Regions from separate parts of the Homo sapiens genome. Here regions 1, 2 and 4 are each linked to region 3. The links are contacts of gene promoters, found by promoter capture Hi-C in human tissues and cell types (Jung and others, 2019). All regions are on one chromosome and are shown on one strand. Each heading gives the region's core, a stretch centred on a gene start or on the middle of the fragment in contact. The rest is flanking DNA. Distances are from core to core; before and after follow the strand shown. Region 1 overlaps PRPF18 (pre-mRNA processing factor 18). Region 2 overlaps FRMD4A (FERM domain containing 4A). Region 3 holds the start of SEPHS1 (selenophosphate synthetase 1). Region 4 overlaps FRMD4A (FERM domain containing 4A).

Region 1 (2,700 bases), core at 78-2,577, 260 kb before region 3:
CAACTGAGACGCCAGGAAAGGGGCAAGATATCAGCTTAGAAGACCAGTCCAGAGGCAGCCTCACATGATTTCGGCCGCAGCCTTCATCTGACTGCAATCACAATAAAGACCCCAAGCAAGATACTGCTCAATCCAGCCCAATAAAACCACAGAACTGGTAATTATTAAGACAATAACAAATTATCTTAAGCTATCAAGTTTCAGGGTGGCTTGTTAATCACCAAAAACAGATTTGGTAATGATAAATCCTTTATAATAAATAAACAAACACTAGTAAGTTTTGGAGTAGTCTGTTACATAGTCATAGGTAACCACACCTGTCTCTCAATAATTGAGAAAGCAAGTAGATAAAAAGTTAGCAAGGCCAAAGAAGATCTGAACAACACTATCATCACTGACATTTGTAGAACTGTACCATGAAAGCAAAACAATACTCTTTTCAAGAGCCCATGGAATAAACCATATGCTAAGCCATAAAACAAGATCAGAGCCTTAAATGTAAAGCAAAAACTATAATATTAAGCTTCTAGAAGAAAATTAAGAATATATATTTGAAATCTTGGGATAGGCAAAGATTTCTTAAGCAGGACACAAAAAGCAATGACCATAAAAGGAAAAAACAATAAATTGGACTTCATTAAAATATAAAACTTCTGGCCCGGGCACTTCGGGAGGCCAAGGCGGGAGGATCCCTTGAGTAGAGGAGTTCAAGATCAGCCTGGGCAACATGAGGAGGCCTCATCTCTACAAAAATTAAAAAATCAGCCAGGCATGGTGGCACACACCTGTGGTCTCAGCTACTTGGAAGGCTGAGGTGGGAGATCGCTTAAGCCCAGGAGCTAGAGGTTGCAGTTAGCCATGATCATGCTGAACTCCAGCCTGGGTGAGAGTGAGACCCTGTCTCAAAAAGCGTGTGTGTACACACACACAAACTTCTGTTCAGCAAAAGATTCAATTAAGAGAACAGGTAAGCCCTAAACTACAAGAAAATAGTCACAAAAAATATTCGTATATCTGACAAAGAACTTCTATCCAGAATATACAAAGAATTCCTATAATCCATTTACAAAAAGACAAGTTTATTTTTAAAATGAACAAAAAGCGCCTGTAATCCCAGCTACTTGAGAGGCTGAGGTGGGAGGACTGCTTAAGCCCAGGAGGTTGCAGCTGCCATGAGCCATGATTATGCCACCGCATTCCAGCGTAGGTGACGGAGTGAGACTCTGTGTCAAAAAAATAAATAAATAAGGAAAGAAAGACTTTAACAGACACTACACAAATGAACACAACTTTATGAAAAGATGCTCCTCATCTTTAGTCATCAGGTAATGTGATTAAAGCCGCAAAGAGCTACTACCAGACACAAAAGAGAATGGTTAAAATTAAAAAGACTAACAATACCACATGCTGGGGTTTGGAAATGACTGGCATTTCTTATGAAGTTAAGCATACATCTACTCTTATTATCCAGCAATTCTACTTCTAGGTATCTCCCCAAGAGACCTATTTATTTACCCAAGAAAAATAACATAGTTCCAAAAAAAGATCTGCATAAGAATGGTCATAGCAGTTTTATCCCTGTTTTTTTTTTTTTTTTTTTTTTTTTGAGAAGGAGTCTCACTCTGTCGCCAGGCTGGAGTGCAGTGGCACAATCTCAGCTCACTGCAACCTCCACCTCCCGGATTCAAGTGATTCTCTTGCCTCAGCCTCCCAAGTAGCTGGGAATACAGGCACACGCCACTACGCCCAGCTAATTTTTGTATTTTTAGTAGAGACGGGGTTTCACCATGTTGGCCAGGATGGTCTCGATCTCTTCACCTTGTGATCCACCTGCCTCAGCCTCCCAAAGTGCTGGGATTACAGGCTTGTGCCACCACGCCCAGCCAGCAGTTTTATTCCTAATAGCCCAAAGCTGGAAACAAATTTTGATATATTCATACAACTGAGTATCACTGGAAAATGAAAAGGAAACCAGTGGTATCTGCAATAACATGGATGAACCTAAAAACTGATATGCTGAGCGAAAGAAGCCAGACACACAATCTATGAGTCCATCTGTATGAAATACAAGAACAAGCAAAATTAATCCATGATGACAAAATTCAAATGGTGGCTGCCCAGGAAGGGATGAGGAGAAATATGAGGATAGGCTGAGAAGGGGTACTGGGGAAATTTCCTTTTTCTCTTTTTTTTCAACTTTTAAGTTCAGGGATACAGCTGCAGGATGACAGGTTTGTTACATAGGGAAACGTGTGTCGTGGTGGTTTACTTCACAGATCATCCCATCACCCAGCTATTGAGCCCAGCATCCATTCGCTATTCTTCCTGATGCTCTCAGGGAAATTTCTTTGGTGACGAAAATGTTCTATTTCTTTATAAGGGCAATGGTTATATGCTTGTATGTATTTGTCAAAATGCATTAAATGTTATACTTAAGATATGAGCTTTTCAAAAAATTAATGAAAACTTCCATTCAGCAGCAATAATCTGCTCACTTTACTTTTCCATTGTTGCCTACAATAATGCAATTAGTCAAACTCTATTCTAGTGAATGCAGTACAGTGGTATTTTTCTAGCTTTGTTCTGTCCTCTTACCTTGTTAACTTCTGGTGTGAGGATCTCTATTTTCCTTAAACGTTGAAAAGCATCATAATCAGTCTCTCCAAATAGTCTGATTGGTTCTCCTCTTTCTCTCAATCT
Region 2 (2,700 bases), core at 55-2,554, 350 kb before region 3:
TTTTCTGGTGGGTGAGAGGATGACGTCTCCTTGGTTCACACAGGGCTTATATCAACACTCTGCCCCCTCTTCCTCCAGCCCTGTCTCCCCAGACTCCCCTGTCAGCCCCCCACAAGCCACTCCCATTCATTCTCCCTCAGGGGAAGAGCCCTGCCAAGATGGCCCTGCAGCTTCTCTCAAGATCCTGCTGGCTTGGGCTGGGGGAATACAGACTGAGGTCACCCTGGGCCCCTGGGCTAGTGGTTTCTAGCACTTACGGAGGATTTCCCTCCATCGCGTGAGTTCTTGGGAGAAGGTGGCAAGATGCTCAACTTACTGGGCACAAGAGTCACTGAATCGGTGCCCTCTAGGGTTCTTTCTCTTTTGCCATCTTATCCATATTTTAAGGGGTTTCTCTTTTTCTGGGGAAGAGGAGAGTGAGCGAATTGGGGGTCAAGGGGGAGGTGATAAGAGAAAGAAAAGAGGACAGGGCTGGGCACAGTGGCTCACATCTGTAGTCTCAGCGCTTCGGGAGGCCAAGGCAGGAGGATCACTTGAGCTCAGGAATTCCAGACCAGCCTGGGCAACATAGTGAGACCCCCATCTCTACTAAAAGAAAAAAAAAAGAAGAAAAGAGGACAGGACGAAATGAAACAATCCCTTTAGTCATAATTCAGTTTTAAATTGGGGTCTGTCCCCCGCAGCCGTCATTTTATCCTTTGTAAAATATCTTGTCCTCTACTTTCTGACCCCCTTTTTGGTCATTTTCTGGGATGAATGAGCGCAGGACAGAGAATTTCTGTTGTTAGGAATAATGACAGTATTCTCCGCAGCTCTCCTGGCAGTGATGGGTCCTAGTCCTAGCGCAGGAATTTGAAGCTCGATTAGATCAAAAGAAATGGGGCCAAAGTGTTTTTGACTCATGCTCGATATTGACACAGTGGGTGGGTGTCAGGGTTTTGCTGTCCAGGGGCAACAGTTGGAGGTCGACACCTGAGAACGTTAATTTCACCCTCTGTGGTTGGGTGATGGATGGTGGGGGTTAGGGGATTGGGCAATGCTCCTGAACCCCACTGCCAGTTCCCCTTGACGGCAGACCCCCCACGCACTGTACCACAGTGTGGACAGAGGAAAAGGTGTATCTCGCCCTGAGGATAGCACAGCATTGGCTGTTCAAGCTCCTCCTCTCTGCGCCGGTTTTTGCATAGGCGGTCTCTTGAGCATTTCAAGAAACTTGTTCTTATGGCTTTCCTGCTGCACCCGGGAAGATGGGCTCATTCTGCAGTTGGCAAGCCTTGTTGTTGAACAGGCTAACAGGTCAACTCACTGACACAGCAAGTATATCTCAAAAGGAAATTATTGGCCGGCCGCCATGGCTCACGCCTGTAATCTCAGTACTTTGGGAAGCCGAGGAGAGCAGATCACTTGAGGTCAGGAGTTCGAGACCAGCCTGGCAAACATGGGGAAACCCAGTCTTTACTAAAAATACAAAAAAAAAAAAAAAAAAAAAAAACAATAACCAAGCATCGTGGCAGGCATCTGTAATCTCAGCTACTAGGGAGGCTGAGGGAGGAGAATTGCTTGAACCCAGGAGGCAGAGGTTGCAGTGAGCTGAGATCACACCACTGCACTCCAGCGTGGTTGACAGAGTGAGACTCCATCTCAGAAAAAAAAAAAAAAAAAGATTATTGTAGATAAATTAGCAACAAGACGTGTCTTTTAGGAGGTAAAACCAAATGCCCCATAGCATTAGGAATGTTTCAGCTGTCCCTTTTGTAAAAGTAACCCTTGGGGACTGAAGAAAATGCCCACGCTCCCAGAAGGAGAAGGAGAACATTTCCCAGGAAGCCTGGCATGCTCACAGATGTCCTAGAGCCCTCACACTTCTCACAGGAACCAGTTCCCCAGCCTGCAGTGACAGGTGAGGATCACAACCCTCTATGTGGGAATTGGAGGCCTCTGTTTTCCAGCTCTGGGACCCCGGGTGGGTCTTTCATCCTTGGTGTTTTGCTTTCCCCAATTAGCAGCAAAGGAAATTCCTGACCTCAATTAGTGATTGGTCAGATGGCACCACGTTTGTGAAATTGCTTGAGGAAATACGTGCCATCTTTTACTAATGTCATAGTTAATCTAGCATACTATCACTGGCCAACACTTGCATGAAGTTTAAATTCTCTAAAAGGCCCGCAAATTAAATCAGAGATGATGACGTACCCTTTGGGAATTACATTACAACACCTTTCTGTTTCTGGAATGTTCTTTATAGAACAGCGATGTGATTGATCTCTGATGGGCAGCACGGCCTCTGGGTGAGTGATGGCCGACAGGGCTGGGACAGAGAGCTTCATAACATTTCTAGGCAGCCAGTTCTGGCTGGTATCCTGGCCACTGCTCACACTCTACTGTACTGGGACATGCCAACCATTCCTTTCTCTGAAGAGCTTCAGCAAAGCCCAGGCCTCCCAAATGATGTTTATCAACCCTAGAGAGACAAGTGAGGTCTAGTGGTTCGAGTCAGCAAGGGTAGGGAGCCATGAGGGTTCAGGTGCTCCCCTGACACTCGGGTTTTTTCTTCTTTCAGGGTCACTGTGCAAATCATTTAAGGAAATCTCTCCTTCTTTCTCTCTGCCTGTCTCTCCCTCCCTCCCTCCATCAGCTCTCCATGCATATACATCAAGAAACCATTCTACGATCTAAGACAGGGCGGAGGGAGGCTGTGCT
Region 3 (2,700 bases), core at 189-2,688:
TATTAGCATCGCTCCTCATTCCCTCCCCCACCCCCCACCCCCGCAAACTGGAAACCTGGGGGTCATCTTATCCTTCTTCCTCTCCTTCCTACGTGCTAAATCACACCAAATCCCTTCCCTGGGCTGCATTCCCCTTGCTTTCAGTTCAAGTACATCTCCGGGCTTGACTAGTACAATACCCTCTTAATGAGAACCGTGACCCTGTCTTCCCCTCTGGGAGAAGCCATCCTCCAGTGGCAGGCGCCTGTAATCCCAGCTACTGGGGAGGCTGAGGCAGGAGAATCACCTGAACCCAGGAGGCGGAGGTTGCAGTGAGCCGAGATCGCGCCACTGCACTCCAGCCTGGCGACAGAGTGGGACTCCGTCTCAAAATAAATAAATAAATAAATATAAAATAAAAGAATGCAGACTAACACGTTCTTTGCAAACTTACTACAGGGTATGAAGAAAGTACACAAAGACAGGAGCAGCCTGTCTTCGAGGTGGCATCACTTCTGCATCCAGCCCAGGATTAAAACCCGGAGCAACTGGCAAGCGGAAATGTTAACGAAAAGGGCATCTGCGTAGCGTGCCAACCTGCCGTGCCACGTAAAGCACGGTCCAGTGACCCAAAACATTTCTGCTCCCAAATAACATTTGGAAAATGCTGACCTACTGCCTAGAAAAGTTCGATCGGCATTCCTGCACACTGCTGTTTTAGAGAGAAGCCCTAAACGATATCTGAAAGTATTTGGTTTATTTTCATCAGCAATGCTTTAGAATCTCGAAAGCCCAGAAAAAAGTTATTTCACGACGTGAAGCTCCCCCCTCGATGTCAATTCGAACACATCCAGGGTTGCGGCTGCCATGTTCGCTCGAACATGTGCAGGACAAACAATGCAACCAGCGGGGAACCGTAAACCTTTTTCCTCGACTTCCTACCACGCACATGAAGTGTTCAAGAAACTTTGCAGGACGTCTCCACATTTCACGAGGCTCCCGTGAACTCCGGAGCCGAGCTAAACAATAGGAAGGACAGATGCTGGGAGTCCCCAAGCATCTAACGCGCCGTTTGTGTTTTCAAAAAACCTCTGCCTGGCGCCCAGGCGGCTTTTCCTGGGCTCCTAGCCTCCTGTGCAAATTGTTCCCATGGTCATTGTCTTCCAGGACGCTCCGCTGCGCACTCGGGGAGCGGGGACAGCGCCCCGCAGAGCGCCGCGCGGTCGAGCCCGGCCAGGTGGCGGAAACGTTCCCGGCCCTTGCAGCGGGGCCCGGGAAAAAGGTGGCCCGGGCGCCAAGGGCGGCTGCCAATGCAACTCGCAACTTTTGAAATCAATCCTTTTTTGCATCATGCAACGGATGCCACCGCTCCTCGGGTTTGCAACCCCCCACCCCTCCCCCGAGACCAATCATTGCCGCGCTCGGGGCTGCACGGCGCCCCCGCCCCCTTCCCGGGCCGCACGCCGCCACCCAGCAGCCAGGGCCGCCTCTTAAAGGGAGGTGGCCGGCCTTAAAGGACCCCCGCGCGCCCAGCCGGCGGGAGCGCGGCGGCCCGGCTCCCGCAGGGCCGCGCCGAGGCAGGCGAGCCCCCGCGGCGCCCAGGCGCGGGCCCGGGCCCCCGCCGCCGCCGCCGCCGCCGGGCGCGGCATTTTTATTCAGGCGACGCTTAAGGGAGCCCGGCCGCGCCCGGTGCATTGTGGGAGCGGCCCGCGGCCCGTTTTCGGGAGGAGGCGGAGGGCGCAAAGCGAGCCGGTAAGCGGCGGGCCCGGCGCGGGGGGGAGGCGCAGGCTTAAAGGGGAATCTGGGTCCGCAGGCCCGCGGCGGCCGTTGCAAATCCCCCTCCGGGCCGCCCGGGACCGCCGGGGAGCCGCGCGCCGCCGGCCCCGCCAGCCCTGCCTGGAGAGGGGCAGCGCCGGGCTTGGTGGGGCCGCTTTAAAAAAGAAGCGCCGCCCGCGCCGCCGCCGCCGCCGCGCGGGGCCGGGGAAGGAGGGAGGGAGGGCGGGGAGGAGCGGAGGGGAGGGCGGCGGCGGCCACGCAGGGGTTAATTTTTTCGCCCGCCGACATTTTTGCGCGGCGGCGGCGGCGGCCCGTGCGCGCGGCGGGAGCGGCCGGCCTGGGGTCGCGGGGTGCCTCCGGGGCCTCCCCGCCTCCCCTTTTCTCCGCGCGGGCCCTGTCGACCCGGGGCGGGTGCGTCCCGGCGTCCTCCCCGGCTCCTGGGCCGCACGCGCGGTGCCCGCCGGCTCCCGCCGCCTCCCGCCGGCCCGAACAGGGATGGCCCGGCCGGGGCCCCGAGCTGCCGCCTCCGCCCCGCCGCCGGCCCGCAGCCCGGGCCTGCTGGGCCTTCCGAGGCGGCGGCGAGGGCCTGAGCCTGAGCCTGAGCCCGAAGGTGTCCCCGGGTTCCTTGCTCCCCTCCCCGGCCGCCTCCGACGCGGGCGTCCTGGAGAGCGCGCCCCATTGTGCGGGGCCGGCGGGGAGGTAGGTCCGGGGTTGGCGGGGCAGCGCGCCGGGCCCACCCCGCTGACCGGCTCCCCGGCTCCCCACGCTCGTTGGAAGAAAAAAAAAAACCAAACCATGGAAATGTGCCCGGGAAGGAAAGGGCTAAACGTTGCTTTAAATATTCATGCCATTGTTTTAAAGGCGTAAACATGTGGCTGCGGGGTCGCCGGGCACCGTCCCTTATTAATGCAAATGGATCCCCCTGGTTCCCTAATCACTGCACAT
Region 4 (2,700 bases), core at 168-2,667, 400 kb before region 3:
AATTGAAATTAATATAATTCTCATATACTATTTATATACTGTTTTACACACACACACACACACACACACACACACACACGAAAGAATTGTGTGTGGCGTTTTCCCATGATTTAAAAATGACTTTAAGGGCCATGAGTAATTGAAGAGCAGATGGAATCTTTCACACCAGCAAGAGCTTTTGAAAGGAACAGAATCTGTGAAAATTTGAAGCAAAATGTTCAAGTGGAAAAGTTATAAATTGTTACAGAAAGCTTTGTTTTGTGCACTAAAGTCTATTTGATGGAGCTTTCAAGTGTGTAATTCACATTTTCAAAGCATAAAAAAGTATTTGGATAGGGATAGGGTAGTTTTTTTTTTGCAGGATGATATTCTTCAAATTCTATGCGAATTGCTTAGAAGCCAAGTAAGGAGGAAATTTTGTATTATGACAGCTTACTTCTTTTGTTAGGCATTTATTTAACATATTAAAATATCATATTTTCAGTTATACCTGTGAACAGCAAAACGTTTCATGGCTATGGTACTGTGTCAGTTTTTCAGAGTGGAAATTCTGAAACTAAAGGGTGATACTGAGAAATATAGAAAGTTAATCGTTTCTTCTTGGGCTTTTTGAGAAAATTATTTGCCTGAAATTGTAGACTTATGAAACAATTTTTAAATTTGTCTTAAATTTTACATGTTTATACCTAACATAAATTAGAAATTCATAAAACTTCATTTCACCCCAGAAAACGAGACTCGGTAATCAAGGAAGAAATCCTTACTTATATAACTTAACAATTAGCAACAGAAATAAAGGCACTGCCAGACACTGTGGCTCACGCCTATAATCCCAGCACTTTGGGAGGCCAAGGCAGGAGGATTGCTTGAGCCCAGGAGTTCAAGATGAGCCTAGGCAACATAGTGAGACCTCATCTCTACAAAATATTTAAAAAATTAACCAGGTGCAGTGATAAGCACCTGTAGTCCCAGCTGCTTGGAGGCTAAGGCAGGTGGTTCACTTGAGCCTGGGAGGTGGAGGCTGCAGTGAGCCATGATCTCAAAACTGCGCTCTAGCCTGGGCAACAAAGCGAGACCCTGTCTCAAAAAAAAAAAAAAAAAAAAATAGAAAGGTACATATTTCATCAATGTGTTTGCAATGTTGCCCCCAACAAACAGTTGGTAAATTCATGTGATTTATCTATGATTCATGCCCAGAATTCAGAATCCCATGCTGGAAAAACCTCCTGGGGCCTCCAAGTGATTCCCTTTGTCTGTGAATGGTCACACACTATGGCAGGAAAAGTTTCTCAGACAGATGGGACCCAACCCAATGGTGGAAGACCCCTGCAACATTTCTTTCCTACACACCTGGGGAAAAAAGCATGTGATTGGGCGGAGATAGGCAGGTGCTCTCTTTTCTTTGTTGTAACCTCAGCTTCACCTTGGTTTACCAAAAAAAGGAGGAGGAAGAAAGGAAAGGGAAATTAAAGATTGTTTCCTGCATGATTTCTTAAAGATCAGCAAAGAATGAAAATCTATAACTTCCCTCATTAATCTGTCTCAGTTTTCTAGGTCCACTGTATGATCGAACAAAGGAACAGAGAGCCACGTATGTATATCTAGAACTTTAGGGTCTCAATGTTTACGAATTCAGAACTTGGCAGGATTTAGGCAGGTAATTCAGGGCTTGTACGACACCCTGGGCAGGGCCTAGGGCAGCACCTGGAATTAAACACATCAACACCTCCAGCCCAAAACATGGATATGCGCAGCAAGTGGGCGCAAATAGAAAGGTCCATCATTGCCTCATGCAAAAAGATGAAGTTTGCCGCCAGATGGGTTAAGAAATGTTTCTTAGACTCTAGCTTTTTGAATTTTGGAATTGTGATAATGGATGAAGGACCTGCAACACTCTACTTATGAAATATCCCGCCCCTGAGAACTTGACCTTCATGATTCTGCTCATAAAATATGGAGGAGTGAGGCCAATGCTAGCATTATATTACTGTTTCTGAATTGCAGGCTGTTCCTTTCTGTTACGATAGTATCACATTCTGGGTTTTGTGCTCTGCTGTTTTTGTACCAGTGCAGACAGAAACGACTGGTTTTAGCAAGAATTCTTTCACGCTAAGCCTATTCTGTTCGTCCCAAGTTTCTCCCACAAATTACATACATCTCATTTGACCCAGGGGGACTTTCTTGAAAAAGTTATTTCCAGGTTTTTTAAAGAAAAGCAAACACATTGTGGATTTTCCTCATCCTTCCCTCTCAGGTTTAATTTTTGCTCCCTTCACTTTGTGGCATCTTGGTTAAATCTGCTGTTCACTGTGGCAAATTCTCTATTTGATATATTGCTAGAAATCTTTGTTTTTCCCCAGTAGATCATTCTAACTTTCCTTGTTTCGTGAGGAGTATAGGCTGCAGAAGACAGGCACATCATCTCAAAGAAAAAAACACCACTAAATCGAAGACCAATACAGCATTGATACCACTTTTATCCTGGCAACGTTAATAACTGCCGGAGAGTTTTTAATAAAAACTGATTCATATTAAAGATAAGAAGACTTGGATGTTATTCTCAGTTTAGCAACTGGCTTTTCAAGAGAACTTTTTGCATTTTTCTTTTTCTTTTCTATTCTTTTGGTTTTTGAGACAGGGTCTCCCTCTGTTGCCCAGGCTGGAGAACAGTGGCATGGTCATAGCTCACTCTAATGTCAA

Evidence for each region. The method cuts DNA at HindIII sites, captures the fragments that hold promoters and counts their contacts. A contact is called where the count stands out against the background at its distance.
Region 1: a fragment that was not itself captured here is called in contact with the fragment with the promoter of SEPHS1 in region 3 in 2 of the 25 tissues and cell types used here (IMR-90 fibroblasts and lymphoblastoid cells).
Region 2: a contact is called between a fragment that was not itself captured here and the fragment with the promoter of SEPHS1 in region 3, in 1 of the 25 tissues and cell types used here (lymphoblastoid cells).
Region 4: a contact is called between a fragment that was not itself captured here and the fragment with the promoter of SEPHS1 in region 3, in 1 of the 25 tissues and cell types used here (thymus).

Annotation. Positions count from the first base shown.
Region 1 is chr10:13,605,640-13,608,339 of GRCh38, reverse strand. PRPF18 (pre-mRNA processing factor 18) reads right to left here. Exons shown (of 10, transcript NM_003675.4): 4 at 2,596-2,700. Among named protein-coding and RNA genes, the nearest start is that of PRPF18, 20 kb to the right of the region's middle. The HindIII fragment of the contact is 3,146 bases long and covers 1-2,700 here.
Region 2 is chr10:13,698,017-13,700,716 of GRCh38, reverse strand. All of the region lies in intron 14 of FRMD4A (FERM domain containing 4A), which reads left to right. Among named protein-coding and RNA genes, the nearest start is that of PRPF18, 110 kb to the right of the region's middle. The HindIII fragment of the contact is 4,029 bases long and covers 1-2,700 here.
Region 3 is chr10:13,347,031-13,349,730 of GRCh38, reverse strand. It overlaps SEPHS1 (selenophosphate synthetase 1), which reads left to right and starts at 1,438. Exons shown (of 9, transcript NM_012247.5): 1 at 1,438-1,731. RefSeq lists enhancers at 1-462, 463-1,253 and silencers at 1,323-1,542, 1,673-2,502. The HindIII fragment of the contact is 27,088 bases long and covers 1-2,700 here.
Region 4 is chr10:13,751,947-13,754,646 of GRCh38, reverse strand. All of the region lies in intron 8 of FRMD4A (FERM domain containing 4A), which reads left to right. Among named protein-coding and RNA genes, the nearest start is that of PRPF18, 170 kb to the right of the region's middle. The HindIII fragment of the contact is 4,931 bases long and covers 1-2,700 here.